Regions from separate parts of the Homo sapiens genome. Here region 2 is linked to region 1. Evidence: promoter capture Hi-C in 16 types of primary human blood cells and fetal thymus (Javierre and others, 2016). All regions are on one chromosome and are shown on one strand. Each heading gives the region's core, a stretch centred on a gene start or on the middle of the fragment in contact. The rest is flanking DNA. Distances are from core to core; before and after follow the strand shown.

Region 1 (4,211 bases), core at 1,071-3,570:
CATACCAATAGTTATTGGGTACTTATGTACCAGGCTCTGGGCAGGGCACTAACCTCAGAGTGGCAGAGTCCGGAGATACCAAGAGATGATTATAGCACAACAGTGGGAGTGTCCTTATAAAGGGAAGCAGCATAGGATAGAATGGGCCATAGAGGAAGGGTCGTAGCTCTGCCGAAGAAGGCTTTGGTTTAAAACTTTGGAGAAAGTGGCCAGGCGCGATGGCTCACACCCCGTAATCCCAGCACTTTGGGAGGTCAAGGCGGTCGGATCACTTGAGGTCAATAGTTCAAGACCAGCCTGGACAAAACGGTGAAATCCTGTCTTTGCAAAAATAGAAAAATTTGCCGGGCATGGTAGCGCACGTCTGTAAATCCCAGCTACTCCGGAGGCTGAGGCACAAGAATCGCTTGAACCCGGGAGGTGGAGGTTGCAGTGAGCCGAGATCATGCCACTGCACTCCAGCCTGGGTGACAGAGGGAGATTCTGTCTGAAAAATAAAAAAATGAAACTTGGGAGCAAGAAATTAATCCACTGTTGTTTTTAAACTCTTATGCATGTACTTAATTTTCAAGATTCTATGACCAAACTGGAAAATGATAAATACAAAAAACCCTCTATTTTTGCAAATATTTTATTAAAATGTAAATTTAAAAAGATGAAAAACCATATTCCACTTACTTTCACTGATGGAGATGATACCAAGCACTTGAAACTTTTTACATGTCTTTAAAGAAAGCTTTTTGCGTATCTCATACGTACCCATCAATCTTTTAAAATCCCTTCCCTAGCAACCCAACACCTAAGTTTCAGAGCATGACTTAAACACCAACACGTTGCCACTGTTCATCTAATCCACCTGAATTTTGCCTTAACTTAGGTTTATTCTTACTGGGGACTGAAATGGTTCGTTCAAGATAAACCGAAGTCAGTTTAAAAATTACTAGATGATAGTAGTTACTAAGATGCTCATGGTTCCCTTTTCAGCAAAGGCCCCCAGGTAGGGCCAGCCAATAATGCAAGTCACACTCAAGTGTTGACATCTTCATCTCCGGGCCGGCCCCTTATGAAGTGAGGGGGGTCTCCAGTAAAATCACTCAGGAAGCTCCTCGAGCCAAGTATTCCCAAATGCTACTTACTGGAGGTACAAAAAGGAGAATAACTTTTCTGAGGGCCATTTCACAATCTATACCAGAAGCCTTGTGGTATAGACCGTGGATTCTATCTTGTTTTAGAACGAATCTTGTGCGATTCTTTCTACAGAAATGATCACGCTCAAAAACCCAGATACAACGATGCTCAATGAATTACTTTTTGCAATAACTAAAAACTGAAAACCACTTGTACGCTCACCATCAGGGAGAAACTACATTTAGTAAATCACAGTCCAAAGCCATGCCAAGAGTCAGGGATGGATGAGGTAGTCAACCTGACACACAGGAATGTACAGTCGAGAGAGAGAGAGAGAGAGAGAGAGAGTCGAGAGAGAGAGAGAGAGAGTCGAGAGAGAGAGAGTCGAGAGAGAGAGAGAGAGAGAGAGAGAGAGAGAGAGAGAGAGAGTTTCAGCACTTTATGATGCAGGTTCTGCAAAAACAAGCCCCGCTCATGTTACAAGGAAAAACCATCTGGAAGAATATACACCCTCATGTTAACGCAGCTTGTCTCTGGGGAGCAGCGGCACGGCTGCTTTGCTTGCTTCCTTGCTTTCTGTTCCACGTTTTCGACAGTGAGAAGTATTATCTTTAGAGGTCGCGAACAGGCCGGAGGAGGGTGCGGCAGGTCGCGGGGCAGGGCCTCGCTAGGCAGGGACGCCCCCGCACCGCCCCGGGCTGGCCCCGCGCCCCGCGCCCCGCCGCACCTCCACCTTTGCCGGCGGTGAGCGGGAGCCGCGTCCCGCCCCGAGGTCTGGGATCACCGGCGGGCCGGCTGGAAGCGTCCGGAACTCACCCAGCGTCTCACCCGCGCGGGTCTCACCGACCGCGCAAACACCGCCCGCCGCCGCCGCCCAGAGATGGCCGCCGCCGGCGCAGCAGGGCCGAGAGCGTGGGGACGCCGGGGGGCTGAGTGCAGGGGTTTCCAGGGTGCGGAGCGGGCGGGCCCGAGGCGTCCGGGCGGGCGCAGGCGCGACACCGACCCCACCCGGTCTGCTGCCTCACCTGTGCTCTGTGGGCCGCGGGAGGCTCTGGGGTAGGTTTCACCAAACAACCGGTTGGTTCCGACTCGGCTGCGTAGGCCGCGTGGCCTTGCTCCCCTGGCCGAGAAACAGGCGCAGCCGGCGCGGAGGTTGAAAGCTCTGCAGGCGCGAGTACCAAACGCGCCGACTGTTTGTCGCGCCTCTCAGGTCCCCTGGGGCGACCAGCGCAGGAGGCCACCCCTCCCGCCGCCACGGACCCAACCCTGGTCCTCTGCCTTAGCCGAAGGCCGCACCCTCCGCGCATAGGCCTTCCTCAGCCCCAACCCAGGACATCACCATGTCCCGCAGTGCGTCCAGTCTTCCTGCCAGCAAGTGTGGGTAGGAGCCGGCCGCTGGCCCCGCTCTGGGCTAGACGGTGGGGACATACTGGCGGGCAAAAACAGCCCTGTGCCTGCTCTGCAGCTATGGGGAAGGAATATCTGTTCATGGCAGCAATAGCATTCGCTCCTTAAAACCTCTTTATGAGTCTCATTCCTTTTTTAAAGACCCAAACTACTTAAGGTGGGCATGAAGCCCCCATGTGTGATCTAGCCTCTGCCTGCTTGGCTTCATTTAGGTCCTTAAAGGATGCAGGTTTCTTCTCGCCCAGGGCCTCTGCAAATGCTCTTCTCTCTGCCTGGACACTCCTCACCTCTTCCCTATTGTGAGAGTTCTTCATATATCATTTCTTAGATTACACTATCCTGGCCCATAAGACTTGCAGCATTGCTGGGTGTGGTGGCTCATACCTGTAATCACGGCATTTTGGGAGGCAGAGTGGCGGATCTCTTGAGTCCAGGAGTTCAAGACCAGCCTGGGCAACATGGTAAAAAAAAAAAAAAAGAGAGAGAGAGAATGAGAAAGAAGAAAAGAAAATAATTAGCGGCTCAGGCCTGTAATCCTAGCTACTTGGGACGCTGAGGTGGGAGAATTGCTTGGGCCCTGAAGGGAGGTAGAGGCTGCAGAGAGCTGTGATTGCACCACTACACTCCAGCCTGGGCAACAGAGCGAGACCCTGTTTCATTAAAAAAAACACACACAAAAAGAAACAGCCGGGCTCAGTGGCTCACGCCTGTAATCCCAGCACTTTGGGATGCTGAGGCAGGCATGGCAAAACCCCGTCACTACTGAAAATATAAAACTTAGAGGGGCGTGGTGGTGCATGCCTGTAGTCCCAACTACTTGGGAGGCTGAGGCAGGAGAATCGCTTCAACCTGGGAGGTGGAGGTTGGAGTGAGCTGAGATTGAGCCACTGCACTCCAGCCTGGGCGAAGAGCAAGACTCTGTCTCAAAAAAAAAAAAAAAAAAAAACAGCCGGGCACAGTGGCTTACACCTGTAATCCCAGCACTCTGGGAGGCCAGGTGCGGATTGCCTGAGGTCAGAAGTTTGAGACCAGCCTGGCCAACGTGGTGAAACCCTAGCTCTACTAAAAATACAAAAATTAGCCGGGCGTGGTGGCATGCGTCTGTAATCCCAGCTACTCAGGAGGCTGAGGCAGGAGAATCACTTGACCTTGGGAGGTGGCAGTTGCAGCGAACTGAGATCGCCTCACTGTACTGCAGCCTGAGCCACAGAGTGATACTTCGTCTCAAAAACAAAAACAAAAAAAACACAAAAATTGCAGCACCAGGGATTCTTCTTCCTAGCCCCTTTCAGGGTGTGCAATAATTTGTGTAATTTTTGCTTAATGTGTAACTTAACAGTAGACTGAGATCCATGAAGGCAGAGACCATGGCCGCTTGGCTCTCATTCTTGTATGTCTCACATCTGTACCGTGCAGGCCCATGTTAGCTCTGGTAAATATTTATTAAATGAATGAATGAATGAAGAGCAGGCCTGGGTAGTGTCTTAGGTGGCCTTGATTTTCAATTTAAGGAGGAGACAGTGTTGCCTACAGAGAGCGAGAAAAGTTGTTGAGTGGGCCATGTGAGGAGCAGTGAATGGTCCCTGTGGAGAGTAGGCCCAGTCATAGAATAGAGATAAGTGAAGGGATTTTGGAGGGTTTTGAGGGCCCAGCATATTTGGGGGCTGCTATGGTTT
Region 2 (4,211 bases), core at 677-3,176, 1.7 Mb after region 1:
GGCTCCGAGCCTGCAGACGGCGCCCCCGGGGCTAACTCAGCGCGAGAAGAGGAAGCGACGCAGCGAGTAACAGGCTGTATGGACGGACAGCGGACTGAAGGGGGGTGTGTGTGTGTCTGCCTGCCAACAAGGCCGTCTCACCTTCCCGCTGCCGAGCCGGGCAGCTCCAGCTCACCTGAGGAGGGCTCCAGGACGCCACTGCGGCCGCCGTGATGGCCGTAACGGCACGAGGCCTGCGCTCCGCCGCCGCCGCGTAGCTCTTGGGAGAGAGGCGGGGCACGCGCGGTGGGCAGGCGGATCCGCGCGGGCAGGAAACCCACTCTGGACCCAATCTGATAGGTTCAGTCGCCCCCTTCCCCGGTCCCTGACGCGACAACGGTCTCTGCCGCACTGGGATTGGGCGGGCCCTCATGTCAATCAAGCGCCGTGCCTGATGTGGAGGGAGCGGAGGCTGCGCGGCGGAGAGTAGAGAGCTAGAGGGTGAGAAGCGCTGGGCCGGACCAGAACTGTCTTAGCTTTTCCCTCTGCGGCTGCTCTGGTTGGTTACTTTGAGCCTGCCTCCTCAGCGCCGCAGGAGAGACTTAACAGCAAAAATGACTGTGTCCTGAGTTCAGCCCCCACTGCTCTGGGAGCTTCCCCCTGGTTTCTGCACCTGAAGAATGTCATCCCAGCCGAAGGTTCTTAGGAGCGGGGAGCGACAAAGAAAAACAAAGAAAAGCAGACCTGAAAATTGGGACCTGGGAGAAATGTAAGACATGTGCTTAATTTGAGGCACAGACCAAAAGAAGCTGAGTCTGAGGGCCCTCTAAAAGTGTCCTCGTGCTTGGGCAGCTTACATTCTTGGCGGCAGTAGTGTTATGAAGAGGACCTTCGGAGCCAGGTCTGTCCATTCTTAGGGCTCCAGCCACTGGCTGAGGCATCAGTAAGTTGGTTCTTCCCCTCGCCGGTGCTGCAGGCCCCCTTCCCCGCCCCCGCGCCGTAACCTGCCTCTTTTTTTTTTTTTTTTGAAACGAGTTTCGCTCTGTCGCCAGGGTGGAGTGCAGTGGCACGATCTCGGCTCACTGCAACCTCCGCCTCCGGGTTCAAGCTATTCTCCTGCCTCAGCCTCCCGAGTAGCTGGGATTACAGGCATGTACCACCACGCCCAGCTAATGTTTTTGTATTTTTAGCAGTGACGGGGTTTCACCAGGATGGTCTCGATCTCTTGACCTCGTGATTCGCCAGCCTCGGCCTCCCAAAGTGCTGGGATTACAGGCGTGAGCCACCACGCCCAGCCGCCTCATCTCTTCTTAACCATCTTTGTGGCACAGTTTAGGATCGCTCCTCAGGGAAGCTTGCTCAGTTAGGTACCTTCCTTGGAGCACAGGTGTTTTCTCCATCCGAGCTATTGAAATGGTTTGCCTGTATGTCTACCTAGATTGTAAACTCCGTTGAATCAGTAACCATGTCTGTTCAGTTTCTCCCTAGGGCCTTGCAGTAGGGTAGATGGTCAGTAAATACTGTTTAAGGCATTAATACTTTTTATTTTAATCCTGGCCCTGGATATCAGCCTCAAAAGTTTGCAGTTTTCTGCATTTAACTTCAAAATTATTTACGTGATTGGTAATGCATGCATGTGGTTGGCCTGTGCTGTAATTTAGATGTTTGTTCCCCTAAACCTCCTGTTGAAATTTGATCCCCAATGTTGGAGGTGGGGACTAATGGGCAGTGTTGGGTCATGGAGGTGGTTCCTTCAGGAATAGATTAATGTCCTCCCTGGGGAGAGGGTAAATGAGTTCTCTTTATTTCCACCAGAGCTGGTTAAAAAGAACGTCGCACTTCCTTTCTTCTTTTGCGTCCTCTCTGGCCATGTAATCTCTGCACACACCAGCTCTCCTTTGCCTTCTGGCATGAGTAGAAGCAGTCTTAGGCTACCATCAGATGCAGATGCTCAGTCTTGAACTTTTCCAGACATCAGAACCATAAGCCGAAAAACCTTTTCTATTTCTAAATTATCCAGCTTTGGGTATTCCTTTCTAGCAACACTAAAGGGACTAAGACAGCCTGCCATATGTAGGATCACAAGGTCAAGCACAAATTTACCTATTTATGCTGTACTATCCTCAGGTTGACTGGGACAAGTAGACCATGAAACTGGGCAACAGCTACTCTATGTCTACATTCTGTTATTAGCATCCAAAGTGAATAATGGCGGTGAATTTTGAGTTTATTCTAAGGGTTTAAATAACTGCATATTTTATCATGACTGGTATGGACTGAATTGCATCCCCCCCAAAAATTCATACTGAAGCCCTCACTCCTAATGTGACTATATAAATGTTCCTTAACTTACAAAGGGGTTATGTTCCAATAAACCCACCATAAACTGAAAATACCTTAAGTTGAAAAGATCTTAAGTCAGAAATGCATTTAATGCTTCTAACCTACCAAACATCATAGCTTAGAGTAGCCTACCTAAAACATGCTCAGAATACTTACATTAGCTTTCAGTTAGGCAAAATCATCTAATACAAAGCTTATTTTTTAATAAAGTATTGAGTATTTCATGTAATCTACTAAATACTGAATGAAAAACTGGATGGTTTTATGGGTACTCAAAGTACAGATTCTAGAGTGCATATGGCTTTTGGACCATCATAAAGTCAAAAAAATCTTAAGTCAGGGACCATCTCTAGTTGGAGCTAGGCCTTTAGGGAGGTAATAAAAATTAAATTAGGTCATAAGGGTGGGGCCCTAATCCCATAAGATTAATGTCTTTATAGAAAGTGGCACCAGAGAGCTCTCTCCATTTGAGAACACAGCAAGCAGACAGACATCTGCAAGCCAGAGAGAGAGCCCTCACCCAAAACTGACCATGCTGGCACCCTCTTTTGGACCTCCCAACCTACATAACTTTGAAAAAATAAACTTCTGTTGTGTAAGCCACCCAATCTAGTATTTTATTATGGCAGCCCAAGCTAATACAATGGTTTTATTTGTTGATACATTTTATAAAGTTTACAGACTGAGATATTATATTCATTTTTGAAGAAACTTGTCCAGAGTTAAAACTGTTGCTGCAAAATCACCCATCAAACTGTTAGCACAGCGTGACTCAATTTTAATTCTAATTACATATTTAACATACGATGGAGGCAGAAGGTGTGAATATAAATACAACAGGTAAAATACAGAAATACAGTTCTTGCCTTCATGTAGCTTACCACCACCTTAAGTGGGGAAAATTAACCCAGCAAAAAGTATGCTGAAGTCATACATTTAGGGTTTTTGTTTGTTTGTTTGTTTTTTGAGATGGAGTCTCGCTTTTTTGCCCAGGTTGGAGTGCAGTGGCACCACCTCAGCTTATTGCAACCTCCACCTCCCGGGTTCAAGCAATTCTCCTGCCTCAGCCTCCCAAGTTGCTGGGACTACAGGCACACACCACCACACCTGGCTAATTTTTTGTATTTTTAGTAGAGACGGGGTTTCACAATGTTGGCCAGGCTTGTCTCAAACCCCTGACCTCAGGTGATCCACCCACCTCAGCCTCCCAAAGTGTTGGGATTACAGGCGTGAGCCACAGCACCCAGCTAGTTTATCCTCTTAATTTTCCTTCTTTAATCTTTCTCATCACTCATTCTTAACAGGAACTCTTTAAAAAAATTTAAGAAACCTCCAAAAATATATGCAAAAGAGGAGTCAAAGAAGAAAAATAAGCAAACAGCAATGAAAAAGGAAAGCATAGACTGGAAGGGCAGATAGGCAGAAAGGCATGTATGTAATTGCACTTAGAAGGGATGCAGTACATGTTTTAATGGGGTGGGAGCTGTCCCAGAGACTTCCTTTCACACAGTCTGTCTCCCCAGCTTCCAAATATAAACATGCACATGGCTGCTGCTTCCTCTCTTTCAGGGGAACTCAAACCAAAAACAGGAATCATCCTTGCTAATTAGTGCTGAGTGGATCAGGGACTAACCAGAATCAGGCAACAAGAAAATGTAAGTCAAAACTTATGATCAGCCCTGGCAACAGAGCTAGACCCTGTCTCTACAAAACAAAATTTTTTTTAATCAGCTGGGCATAGTGGCATGTGCCTGTAGTCCCAGCCACTCTGGAGGCTGAGGTGGGAGGATGGCTTGAGCCCAGGAATTTGAGGCTGCAATGAGCTATGATCACACCACATCTCAAAACAAAAACAAAACTTATCTAGGGACTACACGTGGAGCTTTGGA

Evidence for each region. Contacts are between HindIII fragments. The CHiCAGO score rates a contact against its expected background, and 5 or more counts as called.
Region 2: a contact is called between a fragment that was not itself captured here and the fragment with the promoter of FAIM in region 1, in 3 of 17 cell types (fetal thymus, naive CD8 T cells and total CD4 T cells). The highest score is 5.9, in fetal thymus.

What each region holds. Positions count from the first base shown.
Region 1 is chr3:138,606,880-138,611,090 of GRCh38, reverse strand. It overlaps FAIM (Fas apoptotic inhibitory molecule), which reads right to left and starts at 2,320. Exons shown (of 6, transcript NM_001033031.2): 1 at 2,154-2,320. RefSeq lists an enhancer at 1,583-1,672 and a silencer at 1,773-2,232. The HindIII fragment of the contact is 4,797 bases long and covers 739-4,211 here.
Region 2 is chr3:136,858,284-136,862,494 of GRCh38, reverse strand. It overlaps NCK1-DT (NCK1 divergent transcript), which reads left to right and starts at 432. Exons shown (of 3, transcript NR_110177.1): 1 at 432-748. It overlaps NCK1 (NCK adaptor protein 1), which reads right to left and starts at 287. Exons shown (of 4, transcript NM_001291999.2): 1 at 142-287. RefSeq lists a silencer at 269-328 and enhancers at 689-748, 1,309-1,358. The HindIII fragment of the contact is 1,182 bases long and covers 1,336-2,517 here.